Linked DNA regions of Homo sapiens: regions 1, 2 and 3 are each linked to region 4. The links are contacts of gene promoters, found by promoter capture Hi-C in blood cells and fetal thymus (Javierre and others, 2016). All regions are on one chromosome and are shown on one strand. The core of a region is centred on a gene start or on the middle of the fragment in contact, and the rest is flanking DNA. Distances in the headings are between cores, read along the strand shown. Region 1 holds the start of YIPF6 (Yip1 domain family member 6). Region 2 overlaps EFNB1 (ephrin B1). Region 3 overlaps OGT (O-linked N-acetylglucosamine (GlcNAc) transferase). Region 4 holds the start of IGBP1 (immunoglobulin binding protein 1).

Region 1 (3,185 bases), core at 297-2,796, 1.6 Mb before region 4:
CAGGTATCCTGGATGCTGATGCTGTCAACAATGGCTGCCCTGTCTGACTACATTTTAGCCTGGGGCCAACGTAAACTGGGACCAGAAATACCTTGAAAGCCCAAAAGGATGAGATAAGGAAAACAGGTTGGGACATGAAGATTATCTTTTAAGTTATTGTCACAATAGTTACTCTCTTTTAGACCCTGAACATTTTCAGTACTTGCTCCAAATGGTTTAGCAACTTTTGAAGTGGGATTAACAAGTTTGGCCAATGAAGCTTCTTCCCTGCCCACCGCCAGAGGTGCTGGAGAAAAGTAATCCTGGAGGGTCGGCGTGGAGGCAGTAGAGAGGTTTATAAAAGTCAAGGAAGTGGGAAGAGGCTTGCGAGCAGCAGGAGAGGCGCAGAGTCAGAGGGGCAGGGGCGGCGGCGGAGGGAGCAGGAGGTTGGGGCTTGAGCCCGTCATTCCGGCGCACGAAAACTTGAAGTCGCTCGGTAGCCGGGGAAGGGAAGGAAGAGAGGCAGGCTCTTTCCTAGAGGTGCCGTGATCGAGGGTCTGGCACTCCAAGCCAACTCCTGAGAACGGGAAATGGGCGGGAGTCGGTGGGGTGGAGAGGGCAGCCGTGGTCGCGAGAGCGAAGGAGCGGTCTGAGAATCCGGCTTGAGTGTTAAAGGCTAAGCGTGTCTAGCTGGACCCGTGGCCCCGAAGAAGCGAGACAAGGCGACGCGGAGCTGTCCCTGACACCCCGAGGACCGAGGGACAGCGAAGGGCCGGGGCCGCCGGCCATTGCCAGGCGCCATTAGGTGACGCGGCCGTCACGCGATGACGCGCTGACCGGCAGTGGCCTCCACGTCGCAGGTTCCGCAAAGACCTGTGGGAGCGACCCGGGAGAAGGAGGGCCAAGATGGCGGAAGCGGAGGAGTCTCCAGGAGACCCGGGGACAGCATCGCCCAGGCCCCTGGTGAGCTTGGGATCTGCGACAAAAGGGACCGAGGGTGAGGCAGAGTGCCCCCTAAAGAAGTCGGGGGACGGGCTCGTGGCCTGAGAGCCGGAGCTCCTTCCGCCCGGCAGGCCCTTCTTGTACCCGATGCCAGAACCAGTCCCAACACTGCACCTGTTCTTTGCGCTAACCGCTTTGCCCCCTGCCCTCGTGGTTCCTTCCAGGTCTTTTTGTGAAACTCCGATCTTTCCTTTCCCATCCTCCCAGGTCTCGTCATCGTCCCCTACATTGTGTTAAATGGCGAACTTTAGGTGATTTCTTAAGTTATCTTTTCTTCTGCTGTCCCCTCATTTTATCAAAACCTGTCACCAGCCTTTGTTGAAGGAATAATGAGAGATTGCTTCCCGTGGGACATTAACGTTTTGTTGCTTATAACTTTAGTATTGACTTGTTCAGTGACCCCAGTAGGCCAGGTTTAACCCCTGTCGCAGCTCCTTGCCATTCTCTTCACCATACTTGTTCTCCTTTCTTATTTTTTACTTTTTTAAAAATCGAGACAAGGTCTCACTCTGTCACCCAGGCTGGAGGGCAGTGGCGCGGTCTCTGCTCACTGCAACCTCTGCCTCCCAGGCTCACGTGATCCTCCCACCTCAGCCTCCCTAGTAGCTAGGACCACAGGTGCGTGTCACCACACCAGGCTAATTTTTAGTATTTTTTTGTAGAGACGGGGTTTTACCATGTTGCCCAGGCTGGTCTCGAATTCCTGGGCTCAAGCTATCCTCCTGCCTCGGCCTTCCAAAGTGTTGGGATTACAGGCGTGAGCCACTGTGCCCGGCCATCTTCACTATACTCTCTTGCTCCTGTCTCTGCAAGGGATAGAATTTCCACTGCAAGCCCAAAGTGTGGACAAGTATTTTAAGAACACAGGCTTTGGAGTTAAACTTTACTTGGGATGGAATCCACCCACTTTGTGAGTTTCGGCAAGTCATTTTAGGGAGGGTGTTTCTTCATCTGTAAAATGGAGATAAAAATACCTGCCTCAAAACAGTTTTTAGAAAGATCAAATGGCATAATTTATGTAACGTGTCTAATACTATCAGTACCATGAACTGAGGAGTATAATGAGGTCAATATTCTGCTCCTGTCCCTCTTCTCAATGTGTTTAGTTATATAGTAGTTGCTCAGTAAATGGTTCTTCCCTTTCCTCTTTTTTTTTCTTTTTCTTTTTTTGAGACGGAGTTTTGCTCTTGTCACCCAGGTTGGAGCACAATGGCACAATCTCAGCTCACTGCAACCTCCACCTCTGGGGTTTAAGTGATTCTCCTGCCTCAGCCTCCTGAGTAGCTGGGATTACAGGCGCCTGCCACTACGTCCAGCTAATTTTTGTATTTTTGTAGAGACGGGCTTTCACCACGTTGGCCAGGCTAGTCTCGAACTCCTGACGTCAGGTGATCTGCCCGCCTCGGCCTCCCAAAGTGCTGGGACACAGGTGTGAGCCACCGTGCCTGGCCCCCTTTCCTCTGTTTTGAATTAGCAACTTAACATAGTGAACTGAGCTGGGAGATCAGTGAACTTAATTCTAGTCCTAGCTCTGCTGCTTACTAGCTCCATTTGTTCACCTCTTCACTCACTCAACAAATATTTATTGAGCATCCGCTACTATGTTCCAGGCACTCCTTTAGGCACTGGGGATATGGCAATAAGAGTGAGTTGTGTTAAGTTCTATCGTGACCTTGAGTAAAATCAGGCTGAACCCCAGTTTCCTCCTTTGGAAAATGGTGATAGGAACACATCACTGAATTAGTGAGAGTACTAAATGAGATAATATATACATTGTGCCTACTGTGACATTGTCATAGGTGCTTAGTAGTTTTTAGTTTCTTTCATTTAAACTTCTCCACCCCTCTTCTGTGAAGCTTTCCCCAGTTAACTTCAGTGGTTCTGATCACTCATTACTCAATATGCAATCCGCTTCCATTCAACAAATGTTTAGTGAACTCCCACAATGAGTAATGCACTGTGCTAGTTGCTGTAGGGAATGCAAAGGGCCTGCCTCTATGGTGCTACCAGTCTTAAGTTTTAGGGATAAGACAAGTATACAATGCTAAAATAAGGCAGTATGTAAGAGAAAGTTACACAAAGAATATTACAGAAATTTAAAGGAAAATGCTATCATGTCCAGTTGGGGTGACCAAGCTACATGGTGGAAGTTATATTTGAAAGGACTTCAAAGGATGGGTAGGATTTGAAATTGCAAGTGAGTA
Region 2 (3,307 bases), core at 808-3,307, 1.3 Mb before region 4:
ACTGAAGCTCAGAACAGGCAGCTCATCCAAGGTCACAGAGTTAGTAAGGGCCTAGCTTTGGAATCTGATTCTAAAGTCTGTGTTCTTTCTCCTACATGGTTCTGCCTTGCTCTCAGCACCAGCCCATCCAGTCTCAGAAATGGCCAATGGAGCACCATTTTCTTTCTGTGTGCTTAGGCAAGGACAGAGTCCTATGGATAGGTGGTCCTGGGCTGCTGACCCTCCCTGCTGTCCCCCAGTGCCTGGCCTTCTGGATTAGAATATGAACCTGGCTCAAAAGGCATTTGTCCATCTCCTCTCAGGAGCTGGAGTAGGAGCAACATAGAGGTGACAGGTTAGGATACAGATGAGGCCCTATCTTCTATGATCTGTTGTCTCTGGTTGAGCCCCTTCTCTTCTCCTCTGTTCTTTTTAAGAATGAGATGAATCAAGTTTAGGAATTCAGGCTCTTGCATTTTGAGGGTGGGATGAATTGCCAGTAGGACAATAGGCAGTGGGAGTGAGCAGAGCTGCACCTGGCCAGAGACTGTGGCCATCATCCCTTTGCTCCAGGCGATGCCTGTTCCTATCTTTCCATCATGACCAAGATTAGTAAGGATGGGGGAGAAGACATGGGTCCCAGACAGATTGAGCTCCCCCAGCCTTTGGCTGGGAGCTGCGGGGAGTGGTGACTAAGACATGTGTGGGCTTGCTGTGTGTGTGTGTATGTGTGTGTGTGTGTGTGTGTGTGTGTGTGTGTGTGTGTGTGCGCGCGCGCGCGCGCACGTGTGTATGGGTATAGGAGAGGTAGTAGCAGCGGTCATGAAGGAATCTTTGTTGGGGGTGGGGGTATATAAGACTGCCACCTCCAGGTAGCATGGGCCTGACACCTTGGTACCCAGCCCATTGGCCACGTCAGCCCCCTGCGGAAATGCCACATTAGGACAAAGGGCTCCCCCAGCCAGGCAGTGCTCCACCCTGCCGAGCAGTCAGAGCCTGGCAGCCTTGCCCATGGGCCACCCCTTCCACACTCTCCTGGTAGTGTGGTTCTCTCTCCCCACCCCCAGCCTGAGGATGGAGGAAGGGCAGAAGGCTTGCTCTTGCCATCTCCACCCAGTAGGCCCAGCCCGGCTCTTGTCCGCTTCCCTGGTTCTGGAATGGCCTGGGGCCACCCCCAACCCTGAGGCTGACCATCTTCTTCCTTCTGGGCAGGTTCCTGAGTGGGAAGGGCTTGGTGATCTATCCGAAAATTGGAGACAAGCTGGACATCATCTGCCCCCGAGCAGAAGCAGGGCGGCCCTATGAGTACTACAAGCTGTACCTGGTGCGGCCTGAGCAGGCAGCTGCCTGTAGCACAGTTCTCGACCCCAACGTGTTGGTCACCTGCAATAGGCCAGAGCAGGAAATACGCTTTACCATCAAGTTCCAGGAGTTCAGCCCCAACTACATGGGCCTGGAGTTCAAGAAGCACCATGATTACTACATTACCTGTGAGTCCCGCCCATCCCATCCTCTGGCTCTCTCCCTGGGCTTAACTCTTTCCTCTCCTGTAGTAGTGGGAGCTTCTAAGTGGTGCAATGCTATTGCATGTAGTTAAGACCCTGCTGGATCTGATCCCCTTTGAAGACTGGCATGTTCTCCTCTTAGCCTGGCCTTGGAATTCTCGCCCCAACATTTACCAAGCTCACCTTGGCTCCAGGGGTTGGGCAGGAGAGGTCTCCAATTCGTGTTGCTTCTCTCTTATTTTCTTTGCCCACCTAAGTTCTAATATTGGGAATGGTAACATATGCCAGGCCCTTTGGGATCAGCCAGCTATTCAGCCTTTTTCTTCAGGGGAAACCAAGGCCCCAAAAGGTGAAGGGACTTCTTGCCTTAGATCACACAGTGAGTTAGAGATAGGGTCAGGACTCCAACCCAGTTCTCCTGATTCCTACTCCAGAATTCCTTTCAGTCTATGTAGAAGCCCCCATTATGATCCCAGTGAGGAGGCAGACCTTACCGAGGGGCCATGGCCTGCTCGTGACAGAGGAGCAGTGCCCCTGGGGGTGGGGCTTGTTCTTGGCCTGGGCTGGACTAGGCCATTTTGTTCCTAGTGGGAGGGAAGAAAATGAAAAGGTTCACTGGTAGATGGGAGCTGCTTGCTTCTCCCGACTGCAGTTTCTCTCCCTGTTGGCTGAAGCAGAATGGGAGTTTCTGGGTAATGCTAGTAGACCTTTCTCTCCTCCTGACTTCTCTGACTTCTCTGGCCTCTTCCTGCAGCAACATCCAATGGAAGCCTGGAGGGGCTGGAAAACCGGGAGGGCGGTGTGTGCCGCACACGCACCATGAAGATCATCATGAAGGTTGGGCAAGGTGAGTGCCTAGTCTGAGGGTCCCCTCACCCCACCCTGTTTGACCTTTGGAACAGATGTTCCTGGCTGGGTGCATGTGTATTAGGAGTGGGGGAGCAGGCGTAGGGTTACAGTATCCAGGCCATTCTTGGCCCACCCTTGATGACTGAGGGCACCTATGCTGGCCGGGTCCCTGCCTCTCACCTGTTCTGTCTCCATTCTTAGATCCCAATGCTGTGACGCCTGAGCAGCTGACTACCAGCAGGCCCAGCAAGGAGGCAGACAACACTGTCAAGATGGCCACACAGGCCCCTGGTAGTCGGGGCTCCCTGGGTGACTCTGATGGCAAGCATGGTAAGTGTATGTGTTTCCCAGAGGTCAGGAGCCATTGCTCTGTCACCTTGTTAGGCCCTGTCCCTGAAGAAATGCAAGCTGGGCCTGGCCTGAAATCTGCTGTGTGTCCCTGGGACCCCTGGCTGACTGTTCCTTCCCCTTTCCCTTCCTCAGAGACTGTGAACCAGGAAGAGAAGAGTGGCCCAGGTGCAAGTGGGGGCAGCAGCGGGGACCCTGATGGCTTCTTCAACTCCAAGGTGGCATTGTTCGCGGCTGTCGGTGCCGGTTGCGTCATCTTCCTGCTCATCATCATCTTCCTGACGGTCCTACTACTGAAGCTACGCAAGCGGCACCGCAAGCACACACAGCAGCGGGCGGCTGCCCTCTCGCTCAGTACCCTGGCCAGTCCCAAGGGGGGCAGTGGCACAGCGGGCACCGAGCCCAGCGACATCATCATTCCCTTACGGACTACAGAGAACAACTACTGCCCCCACTATGAGAAGGTGAGTGGGGACTACGGGCACCCTGTCTACATCGTCCAAGAGATGCCGCCCCAGAGCCCGGCGAACATCTACTACAAGGTCTGAGTGCCCGGCACGGCCTCAGGCCCCCGAGGGACAGTCGGCCTGGACCGGACCTCTCCTTTCGCCCCCACACCCCCTCCC
Region 3 (3,490 bases), core at 1-2,500, 1.4 Mb after region 4:
CTGGGGGTAAAGCAAGAACCTGAACATTTTGGAGCCTTTCTGCTGAGCTAGACCATCTTTATAACACTGGGCTCCGTCATGATCTTATGTGGGAATAAATAACATTCCTTCAAATCTGAGGCTTGCCTGCTGGTGACAAGCAGAGCGCCTGTGATTTGGCTCAAGACTCCTATATGATGCAGGTGCCATTGAAAATGCTGCTCTTCTAAGTCCTTTGTGGCTTGTAAGTGGAGAAGAATTTCATCCAAATGTTACCCTGTAATACTGGCATTTAAAATTCTTATTTAACCTTCCTCCCTTCATCTTCCTCACCCTTTTTACAGTGGAAGAAAGGCTGTTAAAATGATTACAAATTAATAATTGGAACATCCTGTCCCTTGTCCCCACTCCCTTCCCAAGTTCCTTTTTCCTCTTTTCCAATCCTAGTTGTCTACCTTCTTTTCTTCCTCATTTCCTTCTTTTATTCCTCCCCACCCCAACCCCTTAAAAAAAAGGTCAGAAGGACAAAGCTGGTTTGTTTGGGAAATGGACTGATCGAAAGAAAACTTGCCAAAGTGGAAAGGTGGCTTTTAGCATTCTGTGTTTCCAAATAATGAATTTGAACACCAGGTTGGGTTAATTAAAGCTTTTGGTATAATTTAAAATTAAATTTATAAATGCAGTTGTCTTGTTACAAGCCACCTTACGCAACCGCGCTGCAGGGGTGAGGAGTGGGGAGAAACCAGAATGCTTCTGAAACTCCCACCTGTTGCTCTGAGCCCCACGCGCATGCTAATGCGTGGAGTGTATGCGCAGAGTAGCTGTCTGTTTGACTGCTTCATCCAGGGAGGGAGAAGGCTTTTCAGCACCATCTAATGTTTTAAAAGGCACTAGTTTTAAGTGCACAGCTCATAAATTCTGCTGACATTTTGGATTAACCTTATGTAGGTTGCCAGCTAATGAATTGTAATTGATTTCAATCTTAGCTGATAAATCTAATTGGTAATTTATAGAACAAATATTTGATAAGCTCCTATTAATTGTCACCCCACCAAGCGGACAGCTAACATGAATTGCACTTCACTGCAGCTTTAGAGATCGGTTTAGGCTGAGACATTGCGCCTGCCTTAGGTTGCTGACTTCTTTATTTCAGAGCTCTGGAGACACCTAGTTTGAAAAATGTTATTCTGTTTTTTTGTGAGAACTTAGTAAACAAGAAAATACTCTTGAGTGAAATGCAATGTATTTCTTTTGTAATCAGTGCATTTGAAAATTCAAGCCAGCATATTCCTAGTAGATGGAAGCAAAATTAAGTTGTCTTTGTAGAAAATGAAGAGCCTTTCTTCCAGCAAAAATCCCTGCTGTATGCAATAGCCCTGATTAACCCTCTCCCTTCTGCATGTTTCCCATATTACAGACTTGAGACTGTCCTCATTCCCATATGTAATAGACATCCAAAGAATTTCAATTGCTTTGTTGAACTTTTACTAATGATCTTGTTTTTATTTTCTCTCTTGTTTTTGGTTTTTCACCATTGATATTGTATTTAGAAGGTTTCAGGTGGGTGAAACCTCCTATTCCATGCGTAAGGTGCCTCGCTGAAGGGAGCTCGAGGCCTGGATCTAGGGCAGACACACAACCTCCTCCTCCTCTTCCAGCAAGGAACGCACCGAAAAGTCACATGATGAGAAATATGGTAACGGGTTTGTAACTGCCACAGCAAAACAATTTGCCTCCATGCCTGAATCTTCTGTCTTGTGGCTTCAGAAACAGCTTAAAATAATTTTATTTACAAGCAAGTTATGTAAGAGAATGTTTTATACTATAGCCACAATTCTGTCAAAGATAAGTAAAAGTTAATTGATATTAAAAATTATTAGAGATAATTTACTTAGTAAAAGCTTCTAACTCTTCTTGTTGTTCATTTTTTTTCCTTTTTTCTTCTTTGTTTGGATTGCAGCATTCTGCTCTTCTGATGATGCGCTGTGACCCTGCAGTAGCGCAAAGGCTGCGCAGCGTTAATGCGCATTGCGTGCGAATGAACCCCTGTGAACGGTTGACTAGATGAGTAATCTGATTGACTGGCTCCCTCAGTCCTATTCTGTAGCCTTTTTGGATAAAATTGGGTTTTAACATACCTCGAGTCCAACTAATCTCATTAAACAAATATTCTCCATGGGCCTGTCTAGTAGATTAATGGATCTGGTTGGCCGTTTGCTGCGTCTAGGGGTGTTCTATGTAGCGCAGCAGTTCGCAGCGATTGCGCAGTGCGATGCTGTTAGGTTGCGCAAGCGATGTTTGCGCTCGCATTACAGGGACCTCAACCTAGGTGCAATCCTGTCATGTGAGGTTTCAGCTTCAGTCCTCCTTGGGAGACGGGGCATTGTGAGAATGTAACTTAAAGCCTGGCTTTATGATATCCTACTTGGCAGAAAGACATTTTTCTCCTCAGTAGCATAGTTTTGATGTTAGTGAGGAACATTGTTGAAGAGCAGCATTTCCCAAAATGTGTTTCATAGTATTCTAATAAAATGCCCAATGAAAGAAGAGTTCCATGGTCAACTAAGTTCAGGGAACCCTGTTACACTATTAAAGGCTTAGGGAAGTCCAGTAAAGAAACCTATTTTCCGAATTTATTTGATCATGAACTCCTTTTTTTTTCAGCCATACCTCTTAACACCTCATAGAACACACTTTGGGAAACAGTGGGGGTAGGAAAACTCGGCCTCAAGTTGCGCCCTCTAGGTAGCACTTGAAAACATGACAAGGGCCCGTAGTTGTTTGGATAAGAGAACTCCAGCATAGAGCCTTATAGCAACTGACTTCCCAGTTAAGTCCCAGTGTAAGGGTTGGTCTTTGGTTGGCAGAACTGAACATGGTGGTTTGCACTTGGGTTCTGGTGGCGCAGGCGCAGGAGCAGCCAGCTGTGGCAGCGCATTAGTTTTGGCGCAAGCGAGCCTATGCTGCAGGGTCACTTTTGGCTGGTCAGAGAAGGAATAATGATATCACCTTCTTCCCCCCCTCCCCCCAATCTTTTTTTTTTCCCTTTACAAATTTTCCCCTTTCCCTTTACCTCCTTTCCCTCCCATCTTCTTTCATTAACCCCTCCTAAGGCATGTTATTTGAAAGCAATTGAGACGCAACCGAACTTTGCAGTAGCTTGGAGTAATCTTGGCTGTGTTTTCAATGCACAAGGGGAAATTTGGCTTGCAATTCATCACTTTGAAAAGGTTAGTCATTAAATTAATAATTGGTATTTTTGAAGTGCTTACGCATGTAGTGTTTTTACTAGAACTAAATAATAGGTCTTAGCCAGTGACATTATATCTTTGTTTCTCTGGCGGTATAGGCAGTATGTGACTTACAGAGAACAATGATTTGACTTAAATATTTTTTCAACTTGACAATGGTGCAAAAGACATACATATTCAATAGAAATCATACTTCGAGTACCCATGCAGCCATTCTGGTTTTCCCTTTCAGTACAAGATTCAGTAAATTACATGAGATG
Region 4 (3,488 bases), core at 344-2,843:
ATCTTTACTCTCACAATTACTACATTTCTAAGTCTCCTCCACAAGTACTATCTTTTTCTTTATATTCCCTGCCAAGCCTGACCCTGAAAGGTCAGTTTACTAGAGGTGCCAGATAAACCAAATAGGTAATTCGCCAAAGCCTCACTTCCTTCTTAGTTTATAAAGCAGGGGTTGCAAGGGAAGGTTTATTAGAATCACCTGGGAAGCTTTTTCAACCTACATGTGTGCCACAGCCTCCTCTCCCTCTTAGGAAGCACTGTTCTAGTTTGGGGCTTCAATCTGTCCCACATTAAAGGTCTTCATCTTTCTAAATCCTACCCAACTGAAGGTTAATGGAGTAGAAACAATTGAACGCAGAAGTCACTGACTTTGTCACAAACTGGCTGGACAAGTCCCTTAACCTTTCTGGTCTCAAGTTTTTCCTCCGATTTTGGGGGTTCCCTTTAAACTTTGACATTCTTCTATGTGACCGCATGTCATGTCTAAGAAGCCTTCTGAACTACTCCTAGCATGGGATGACTTGCCCTTTCTTGCTTTTCCAACAGCCTGTGCAATACAACATATCACCTATTTTATACTGTCCTATATTGCCCTCTAGTTGTTTTTTAATGAAGCTTTTTTTCTTCTCAACGATATGTAGTTTAAAATACTAGTTTAAAAGTTTATTTTCAGGGGTAGACAGTGTGCCTGCTACTTAAATCTCCTAGGACAATTCAGGCTGCGTCCTAAGGTAATCAGTATGTATTTATATTGCTTTGTTCAAAACAATGACGTCCCTTCTTTGAAGTCCTGAAATTATGTTTTCCATCAGTTCTGTCCAGTAGAAATATAATGGGAGCTACAAATATAGTTTTAAATTATCTGGCAGGCACATTTACAAAGTGAAAAGAAAGAAGTACAATTAATTCTAATAATATATTTAATCCAACATATCCAAAAGACTATCATTTCAACATGTAGTCCATGTAAAAAGTATTTACATTTTTCATTCTTTTTTTTTTAAATGTCTTTGAAATCTGGGGTGTTTTTTACACTTGCAGCACATCTCGATTCAAAATAGCCACTTTCAAGTGCTTAGTAACCACATGTAGCTAGTAACTACCTACTGAACAATGCTGTTCTGCATAAGTTGGCTGCTTTCCAAACTGATCACTTTTTTTTTTTATTCAGATAATGACTGATACTGAGTACTCAGGCTAGCCAGAGTGGTGCAAAGATGAGTCAAATTCATTCTGATAAGAGAGATTTGTAAGTCACTAGCAATTATACAGCGTGGTAGGTGCCATGATAGAGATGCATAGGAGAAACCCAGACTTGGCGGCTGAAGGGCACAGGGTGGAAGGCGGTAGAGAGACAAGGAAGGTTGCACAGAAATAACATTTGATGTAGGAACTAAGTGCACGAAGGGAAGCCGGCTGTGCGGTGACCGGAGTTGCAGGTTGCCAATCTTGCTGAGGGGGGCTCCACCGGACGCCGGCCTACGGGTCGTAGGCGTGTGTGGGGTGAAGGGGGAAGAGGACGGGAGAGGATTGGCTGGGAGGAACCCGGAGCTCCATCTGGTGGGTGGACGGAAACCGCAGGGGGGCGCTACTTGCACTTCGCGCTCAAGCGACCGGATCTTCAAACCGTGGGAGTGGTGCGGCGGCTAGAGTCCCTGGACTCCTCAACCTAGGGAGCTACTCGCGAGGTAAGGGGCGCGCCAGACTGGCTCCTAAAACGCACTCGCTCGTCCGCACTCCTCGCGCTCCGAATTCAGCCTCGCCTCACCCGGGCTTCAGAGCCCACAGAACTTCTCAGCCCCGTGTCGGCGACGAGGAGCTCATGGTAAAACAGCGCCTAGGGTTTTGCTTGTTTGTTTGCTTTTAACAGATGCCTACGACTTGTAACGGGCTGCCTGGTAAAATGAGTCTATGGAAACGGTTGCCAGGGCCGGCTAACAGCGGCTCCCGGAAGTCCTTTGATGCTTTGTTAACAGTGAAGCTACTGGACCAATGAGGTGCTTCTTCCGGTTTTGTCCGCGCTCGCCTAATTCTTCTTTATCAAGGTTGCCTTTGACCCCGGAAAAGAGATCTTCCGGGTTCCTCTCTCCCCAAGATGGCTGCTGAGGACGAGTTACAGCTGCCGCGGCTCCCCGAGCTGTTCGAAACTGGTAGACAGTTACTGGACGAAGTAGAAGTGGCGACTGAACCCGCCGGTTCCCGGATAGTCCAGGAGAAGGTGTTCAAGGGCTTGGACCTCCTTGAGAAGGCTGCCGAAATGTTATCGCAGCTCGACTTGTTCAGGTATGGGGGAAGATAGTAATAATGGCTGAGAACGAAGGTAATAATGGTTACCAAGGGTGGAGCCATTGCGCCTGAGTGGAGGGGACCTTTAGTGGTGAGAACGTTTCGTTCCTACTTACCACTGCGATCTTGTGTACATTGTTTACATTCCCCACCTCTCTTCCCAGATGGTTGATATCTTACGACTCTGCTTCCTAGCGTCTGCTGATTGCATAGGCATTGGGTGTGAGCCCTCAGCCACTTTCATTGAGTGAAACTGGCCGCTGTTCCCCGTGCCTCCTCCCTCTGGTCCACTCCCAGCCCAGCCTCCCACTCCGTCCCCCAGAAAGCAAGGGCCACAATTTGAATGCCTAGTCAGGCTTCACTGCCTCCTTTTTGCTCTTCCAGCCGAAATGAAGATTTGGAAGAGATTGCTTCCACCGACCTGAAGTACCTTTTGGTGCCAGCGTTTCAAGGAGCCCTCACCATGAAACAAGTCAACCCCAGCAAGCGTCTAGATCATTTGCAGCGGGCTCGAGAACACTTTATAAACTACTTAACTCAGTGCCATTGCTATCATGTGGCAGAGTTTGAGCTGCCCAAAACCATGAACAACTCTGCTGAAAATCACACTGCCAATTCCTCCATGGCTTATCCTAGTCTCGTTGCTATGGCATCTCAAAGACAGGCTAAAATACAGAGGTGGGTCAATAGCTATAATATGAGGCCTGCCCAATGGCGGTGCTTTTCAGGGGCATGCTTTCTTGGCGGGTGGTGGGGGGCCAGAATGGTATGTGTCACTTTCTTGGTTCTTATTGAGCATAGGCCCTAGGGAGAGCAAACTTTCCTGAGTTTTTCCAAGAAGCCTCTGCTTTTGTTGAGATGATTATACCTACTTATCAGACCCTTACTACCTTATGGTTGGCAACAGCAGCAATGTAGTTTAGCAGAGTGTCTCCCAACCTTTTCCACATCACATCATAGCAATGTTCATATGGTACAGTGGGGTAGATGTCTCTGAAAGGCAAAGCTAGGCCATTTTATGGTCCACTGATTGAGGAGCTCTGTTCAGACTACTGGAGTAGATGTGTAACATCCTGAACTGATCTTAGTCCTGGCACAGCTTCATTGTGTGACCTTGGAAAAGTTGCTTACTTTCTTAGGTTTTTTTTGTTGTTGTTGTTTGTTTTTTAAACAACATTTAATGGGTGGTCATGATGTCTAGGA

What was found. Contacts are between HindIII fragments. The CHiCAGO score rates a contact against its expected background, and 5 or more counts as called.
Region 1: a fragment that was not itself captured here is called in contact with the fragment with the promoter of IGBP1 in region 4 in 1 of 17 cell types (total B cells); the score reaches 6.2 in total B cells.
Region 2: a contact is called between a fragment that was not itself captured here and the fragment with the promoter of IGBP1 in region 4, in 1 of 17 cell types (total B cells). The highest score is 6.1, in total B cells.
Region 3: a fragment that was not itself captured here is called in contact with the fragment with the promoter of IGBP1 in region 4 in 1 of 17 cell types (neutrophils); the score reaches 6.0 in neutrophils.

Annotation. Positions count from the first base shown.
Region 1 is chrX:68,498,182-68,501,366 of GRCh38, forward strand. It overlaps YIPF6 (Yip1 domain family member 6), which reads left to right and starts at 870. Exons shown (of 7, transcript NM_173834.4): 1 at 870-942. The coding sequence starts at 886. RefSeq lists enhancers at 36-710, 509-988. The HindIII fragment of the contact is 2,578 bases long and covers 258-2,835 here.
Region 2 is chrX:68,837,426-68,840,732 of GRCh38, forward strand. EFNB1 (ephrin B1) reads left to right here. Exons shown (of 5, transcript NM_004429.5): 2 at 1,192-1,469; 3 at 2,239-2,331; 4 at 2,535-2,663; 5 at 2,817-3,307. The coding sequence ends at 3,229. Among named protein-coding and RNA genes, the nearest start is that of EFNB1, 10 kb to the left of the region's middle. The HindIII fragment of the contact is 8,288 bases long and covers 1-3,307 here.
Region 3 is chrX:71,544,815-71,548,304 of GRCh38, forward strand. OGT (O-linked N-acetylglucosamine (GlcNAc) transferase) reads left to right here. Exons shown (of 22, transcript NM_181672.3): 5 at 3,093-3,209. Among named protein-coding and RNA genes, the nearest start is that of OGT, 13 kb to the left of the region's middle. The HindIII fragment of the contact is 1,255 bases long and covers 624-1,878 here.
Region 4 is chrX:70,131,854-70,135,341 of GRCh38, forward strand. It overlaps IGBP1 (immunoglobulin binding protein 1), which reads left to right and starts at 1,594. Exons shown (of 7, transcript NM_001551.3): 1 at 1,594-1,687; 2 at 1,870-2,282; 3 at 2,670-2,963. The coding sequence starts at 2,095. RefSeq lists an enhancer at 2,013-2,472. The HindIII fragment of the contact is 12,060 bases long and covers 613-3,488 here.